Linked DNA regions of Homo sapiens: region 1 is linked to region 2. The links are contacts of gene promoters, found by promoter capture Hi-C in blood cells and fetal thymus (Javierre and others, 2016). All regions are on one chromosome and are shown on one strand. Each heading gives the region's core, a stretch centred on a gene start or on the middle of the fragment in contact. The rest is flanking DNA. Distances are from core to core; before and after follow the strand shown.

Region 1 (3,340 bases), core at 517-3,016, 150 kb before region 2:
GGCTTCTCCTGCCCCCCTGGGCTGCCATGTGACCCACATCCGGCAGTCACAGCTCTTGTGCCAGCTGCAGAACAAGGGCTGGGGTTCCTACCGCCTGTCCCAGAAGAGGGCTGAGGTCCAGGCCCCCAAGCTCCAGCCTAGGTTAGACTTCCAAGGGTGGCTAACTGTGCATGGGAAAGCAGCTATATGGAAAACGAATGGTAGATAAAGGCTAGTGAGTCAAGTTTGTTATTAGATTGCACTGGTGCCACTCCAGGCTGAAAGGGGTCTAAAGTTGTCTCCGACTTGTTCCAGACATTATGGAAGGAAAACGTCCTACGTAAATGAAATTGTCATTCTGTGTCCTCCCACCACAGCAGCAGATGTGTCCTTCCGTTGAGTGAGGGTAACCTTACGTCCACCAAGGATACTTGGAGAAAGTCTATGAGGAGCAAGCTTCAGTCCCACGGTTTCAGACTATTTATGCTCTGAACACAAGAGTACTGGTTAATTATGTTCTCAGCTCTCCTCGCTGTTCTAAGTGTGCACTTGTTGCAAGTAACTTATATTTTTTTATTTGAATGTATTTTATTTTTTTGAGACAGAGTCTTGCTCTGTCACCCAGGCTGGATTGCAGTAGTGCCATCTCAGCTCACTGCAACCTCCACCTCCCAGGTTCAAGCGATTCTCCTGCCTCAGCCTCTCAAGTAGCTGGGATTATAGGCAGGCACCACCATGCCAGGCTAATTTTTGTACTTTTTAGTAGAGGTGGGGTTTCACCATGTTGTCTAGGCTGGTCCTGAACTCCTGACCCCGTGATCCACCCGCCTCAGCCTCCCAAAGTGCTGGGATTCTCTAGGTGTGAGCCGCTGCACTCAGCCTGAATGTATTTTAAAGCAGTAGATAGAATAACAAAGGAATATGAAAACCATGGATTGAATGGACCATTTTATGTATTCAGAGAGACGAGCCACCATCATTGCCAGAAATACCATGTAAAAATTGGCAATTTGGCCAGCCGCAGTGGCTCACGTCTGTCATCCCAGCACTTTGGGAAGCCAAGGCAGGCGGATCACCTGAGGTCAGGAGTTCGAGACCAGCCTGACCAATACGGTGAAACACTGTCTCTACTAAAAATACAAAAATTAGCTGGGCATGGTGTTATGCATCTGTAATCCCAGCTACTCAGGAGGCTGAGACAGGAGAATTGCTTGAGCCCAGGAGGCAGAGGTTGCAGTGAGCTGAGATCACGCCATTGCACTCCAGCCTGGGAGACAGGGCGAGACTCTGTCTCAAAAAAAAAAAAGGCAATTTGGAGATTGCAGTATTTAGTAAACAAATAAATGATCAACATTGTGCAACCACTACCAAAAAGTGTATTGTAATGCATCAAAAATCAACATTTTATTCACTAATGAGTATCAATAAAATAAGTCCAAATTATGGAAACCAAAAAAATAATAAAAAATAAAGTTGTCTCCAGATATTTAACTTTTTTTTTTTTTTTTTGAGACAGAGTCTCACTCTGTTGCCCAGGCTGGAGTGCAGTGGCACGATCTTGGCTCACTACAAGCTCTGCCTCCCGGGTTCATGCCATTCTCCTGCCTCAGCGTCCCAAGTAGCTGGGATTACAGGCGCCCACCACCACGCCTGGCTAATTTTTTGTATTTTTAGTAGAGGCGGGGTTTCACCGTGTTAGCCAGGATGGTCTCGATCTCCTGACCTCATGATCCACCCACCTTGGCCTCCCAAAGTGCTGGGATTACAGGCATGAGCCACCGCGCCCAGCTTTATTTATTTATTTATTTATTTTTGACACAGAGTTTCGCTGTTGTTGCCCAGGCTGGAGTGCAATGGGGCAATCTCGGCTCACTGCAACCTCCGCCTCCCAGGTGCAAGCAATTCTTTTGCCTCAGCCTCCCAAGTAGCTGGGATTACAGGCATGTGCCACCACACCTGGCTAATTTTGTATTTTCAGTAGAGACAGGGTTTCTCCATGTTGCTCAGGCTGGTCTTGAACTCCTGACCTCAGGTGATCCACCCACCTCGGCCTCCCAAAGTGTTAGGATTACAGGCATGAGCCACCGTGCCCAGCCCAGAGATTTAACTTTTATCCTTCCTGGTAGATGGACACAGTTGAAAATGTATGTCCTGTTTTTATGCAAATAGGAGGGTAGGGAGCTTTTCTTGTATCTGCTTCTTCTCAATTGCCTTCAGCTCAAAATAGTCCTTATGCCAAAGTGGCATATTTGGAGGTAACACATTCTAATTTCCTTCAGGGCCAAGTGCAGGGCAGTTAAATGCCTCCAGAAGCATCTCTCAGACAGTGTCAGATGACAGTTAGAGGATAAATACCCCAGCTCCCCCACCCAAGGGGTGGGATAACTCTGAGATATATTCTTTTTTTTTTTTTTCCTTGAGACGGAGTTTCACTCTTATTGCCCAGGCTGGGGTGTAATGGTGCAATCTCAGCTCACCGCAACCTCCACCTCCTGGATTCAAGCGATTCTCCTGTCTCAGCCTCCCGAGTAGCTGGGATTACAGGCATGTGTGCCACCATGCCCAGTTAATTTTGTATCTTTAGTGGAGACGGGGTTTCTCCATTGGTCAGGCTGGTCTCGAACTCCTGACCTCAGGTGATCCACCTGCCTCGCCCTCCCAATGTGCTGGGATTACAGGTGTGAGCCACCTCACCCAGGCTACTCTGAGATATATTCTACTGTCCCCCAGAGTTCCCAGCAGGACTGAGACCCGGTTAGCCACAGCAATAATCTTCTCAATGATATTCTTTTGGCAGGGGGGCCACAAAGTGTGTTTTATTTTTACTATTCATATAAATAATTTTCTATAATATCCTGGAGCAAACCAGAGAATTTGGCAGTCCCATTTGCGGGTCCCCTCAGAGACCCACAGGCCAGTGGCATCTGTGTGAGGTGCCCAGGTTCACAGAGCAGCTTGTGGCTTGCATCCACCTTGCAGGTTGCTTTTCTTCCACATCACCACTGGGGACTTGAAGATAACAGGGGCAGGGAATCCTCCAGATTTTAGGAAATTTCACTGCTTCTCCTGCTCAGTGGTCTCTGGTCCACAAGGTGTTCTCCTGCATCTCCGTTTCCTTCAAAGCTTTATCAAAGCTGGCAATTTCCCCCATGTCTGGTTTGTCTGTCATTTTCTTTTCTCTTTTTTTGAGACAGGGTCTTACTCTGTCACCCAGGTTGGAGTACAGTGGTGCAACCTCAGCTCACTGCAACCTCAACCTTCCAAGCTCAAGTGATCCTCTCACCTCAGCCTCCCAAGTAGCTGGGATTACAGGGGCTGCCACCATGCCCAGCTAATTTTTTTTGTATTTTTAGTAGAGACG
Region 2 (3,085 bases), core at 154-2,653:
TTTGATCACTGCTGAAACCCTAGCACCTTAGAATCCCGCATCTGAGCTGATGCGTAATAGGCGCTCAATAGGCATTTTTGTTAATGTATCTGTAAGATGATAATTGCCAAAACAAACGCCTCTCCATCTCTATAAACGGTATTACCTGCCTTCTAACCAGTCTCTGGAGCATTCCTGCTCCCTACAATCCGTTTAACACAGTGGCAGAATAATATTAAAATATTTAAATGAGCTATTTCTTTACCCAGCTTCCTATCACACTTAGTGAAATCCAAACTCCTTATTCCAACGCATCTCACGCATCCTTCTCCCCTTCATCCACTAGATCCAGCCTCACTGGACTATATTTTAATTCTCTTCTCTAAGCCAAACTGGATCCTGCCTGAGGGCGTTTGCGCTGTCTGGAATATTCATTCCCCATCTTTGCACGGTCAGTTATTTTTTGACATTCAGAGGTCGATCTAAACTTCACCTCTTCAGAAAGATCTTTATTCAATCCCTAGCCTTTCATTCCTTTTGAACGTCAGCACAACAGTTACCACATACTGACTTTCCTTTTCATCACTTTTGTCCCATCACCTAGTATCTGAGCTCCTTGGGCGCGGGGCGCCCTCGCCGGACCTGATGGTGCATCCTCCTCGCCCACCGCGGTGGCTGCCCCCAAGCAGGCGCTCAGCGAGTGTGAAACCAATGCATTCACTCAGGACTCGCGAGCTGCCGTGGCAGGCACTGCCCTCCCCTCCGCCAGCGAGCATCTCCCCCTCTCCGCGCCCGCCGCCCTCCGCGCTCCCGCCTCCCTCGCCTACCTGTCGGCCAACTCCAGCACCTCGTGCACGCTGCCCGTGCTGACGCGGATGCGCCCGGTGTACATGTACTCGATTACGGCTTCCACTGTGTCGGGTTCGGGCCCCGGCTCGGAGCTCCACTTGCGCATCTCCACCCGTCCCGAGCGGGACTCGGAAAACTGGCCCGAGAGCAGGGGCGTGAAGTACTCGGTGGCGGCAGCCAGTACCGAGCGGTGGGCCCGGAACTCGCGGCCTCCAGCCCCGCCGAAGCACAGGGTAATGTCGCAGAAGAGGCCCTGGCGCCGCTGCTCGTTCTGCCGCCAGGACAGCTCTGAGCAGTGAGAGCTGCACTCGAAATCCTCGGCTTCTGGGCCCGGATCGCCCCCGCTCGCCTCCATTGCAGAGATCCCCGGCCCAGGCCCGAAGTCCACCGTGCCGCTGCCTCGGACCTCGGCGGCCAGTCCTGCCGAGCCGGCGGCGGCCGTCTCCATGCTCTCCATCTCCAGTACCTGAAGAGATGCAGCCGCGGCCGCCGCCGCCGCCGCCGCCACTGCCGCAGCCGCCATCTTGACGCCGCTGCGCCCGGCCTCCACAGCCTCGGAACGATGCGGCTGTTGGTACGACACAGAGGGATTCTGGGATTAAATAGTGCGCGCGGGGCGGGGCCAGGTCGCCCGCCGGCCGCACATGCGCCGCCTCGCCTCCAGCAGCGCCGCCTCGCCTCCAGCAGCGCCGCCTCGCCTCCAGCAGCGCCGCCTCGCCTCCAGCAGCTCTGCCTGCCTTGGTGAGGTCCGTCAGTAACAGTCGCCCAGTCCAGAAGACTTCGCCCCAGGCCTACCCCCAGGGCGTCGGTGCGAGTATGGCTCGCTTCCTTTCCTTAGTGGGTAGCATGCTCTCTGCAGTCATTTTGTCGAGTAAAGCCACCTTAGACCATCACCTGTTGTTAAAGCCTTGAGTGGCAATACAGGATTTTTATAAGATCTAGCCCCAGCTAAGTGGATGAGGGATGAATGAGTTACTCGTTATCCGTTTTTTTTTTTGTTTCTTTTTGTTTTTGTTTTGTTTTGGGTTTTTTGTTTTTTTTTTTTTTGAGACGGAGTCTCGCTCTGTCGCCCAGGCTGGAGTGCAGTGGCGCGCTCTTCGCTTATTGCAACCTCCGCTGCCCGGGTTCAAGCGATTCTTGTGCCTCAGCCTCCCGAGTAGCTGGGACTACAGGCGCCCGCCACCACTCCAGGCTAATTTTTTTTTTTTTTTTTTTTTTGAGACGGAGTCTCGCTCTGTCGCCCAGGCTGGAGTGCAGTGGCGCGCTCTTCGCTTATTGCAACCTCCGCCGCCCGGGTTCAAGCGATTCTTGTGCCTCAGCCTCCCGAGTAGCTGGGACTACAGGCGCCCGCCACCACTCCAGGCTAATTTTTTTTTTTTTTTTTTTTTTGAGACGGAGTCTCGCTCTGTCGCCCAGGCTGGAGTGCAGTGGCGCGGGTCTCGGCTCACTGCAACCTCCGCCTCCCGGGTTCACGCCATTCTCCTGCCTCAGCCTCCGGAGTAGCTGGGACTACAGGCGCCCGCCACCATGCCTGGCTAAGTTTTTGTATTTTTAATAGAGACGGGGTTTCACCGTGTTAGCCAGGATGGTCTCGATCTGCTGACCTCGTGATCCACCCGCCTCAGCCTCCCAAAGTGCTGGGATTACAGGCATGAGCCACCACGCCTGACCGTAGATGAGCATTTTTAAAACCATATATACTGAAACTATTAGTACAGTTCAGGCCAGGCCAGGCACAGTGGCTCACGCCTGTAACAGCACTTTGGGAGGCCAAGGAGGATGGATTGCTTGAGTCCATGAGTTCCAGAAGAGCCTGGGAAATACAGCAGAACCTTATCTCCACAAAAAATACAAAAGTTAGCCTGGAGTGGTGGCATGCTCCTGTAGTCCCAGCTACTTGGGAGGCTGGAGTGGGAGGACTGCTTGAGCCCAGGAGATGGAGGCTGCAGTGAGCTGTGATGGTGCCACTGTACTCCAGCCCTGGGGCGACAGAGTGATACCCTGTCTGGAAAAAAGTACAGTTACAAAGGAATACAGATCAAAGGATATGGATGCCAGGAGCCAGCAGTATGCCTTCATTGTTACTATATAGTTTATTTAAACCAGACTATGATAATACAGAGAAGAGACTGAGGTGGCAGCTGCCCAGAATCTTTGTGGATTACAGATGCAAAGTAGTTAGGAGTCCTTGGACCCACACTTCAGTTACAGACAGACAAATCAGCTGCATAAATACAGAGAACATAAGACACAAGAC

The links. Contacts are between HindIII fragments. The CHiCAGO score rates a contact against its expected background, and 5 or more counts as called.
Region 1: a fragment that was not itself captured here is called in contact with the fragment with the promoter of KLHL11 in region 2 in 2 of 17 cell types (endothelial precursors and megakaryocytes); the score reaches 5.6 in endothelial precursors.

What each region holds. Positions count from the first base shown.
Region 1 is chr17:41,718,420-41,721,759 of GRCh38, forward strand. It overlaps a transcript of HAP1 not described here. Among named protein-coding and RNA genes, the nearest start is that of GAST, 7.8 kb to the left of the region's middle. The HindIII fragment of the contact is 2,667 bases long and covers 434-3,100 here.
Region 2 is chr17:41,864,020-41,867,104 of GRCh38, forward strand. KLHL11 (kelch like family member 11) reads right to left here and starts at 1,404. Exons shown (of 2, transcript NM_018143.3): 1 at 807-1,404. The coding sequence starts at 1,351. ACLY (ATP citrate lyase) reads right to left here. Exons shown (of 29, transcript NM_001096.3): 29 at 2,899-3,085. RefSeq lists a silencer at 1,365-1,554 and enhancers at 1,588-2,088, 2,089-2,589. The HindIII fragment of the contact is 13,530 bases long and covers 1-3,085 here.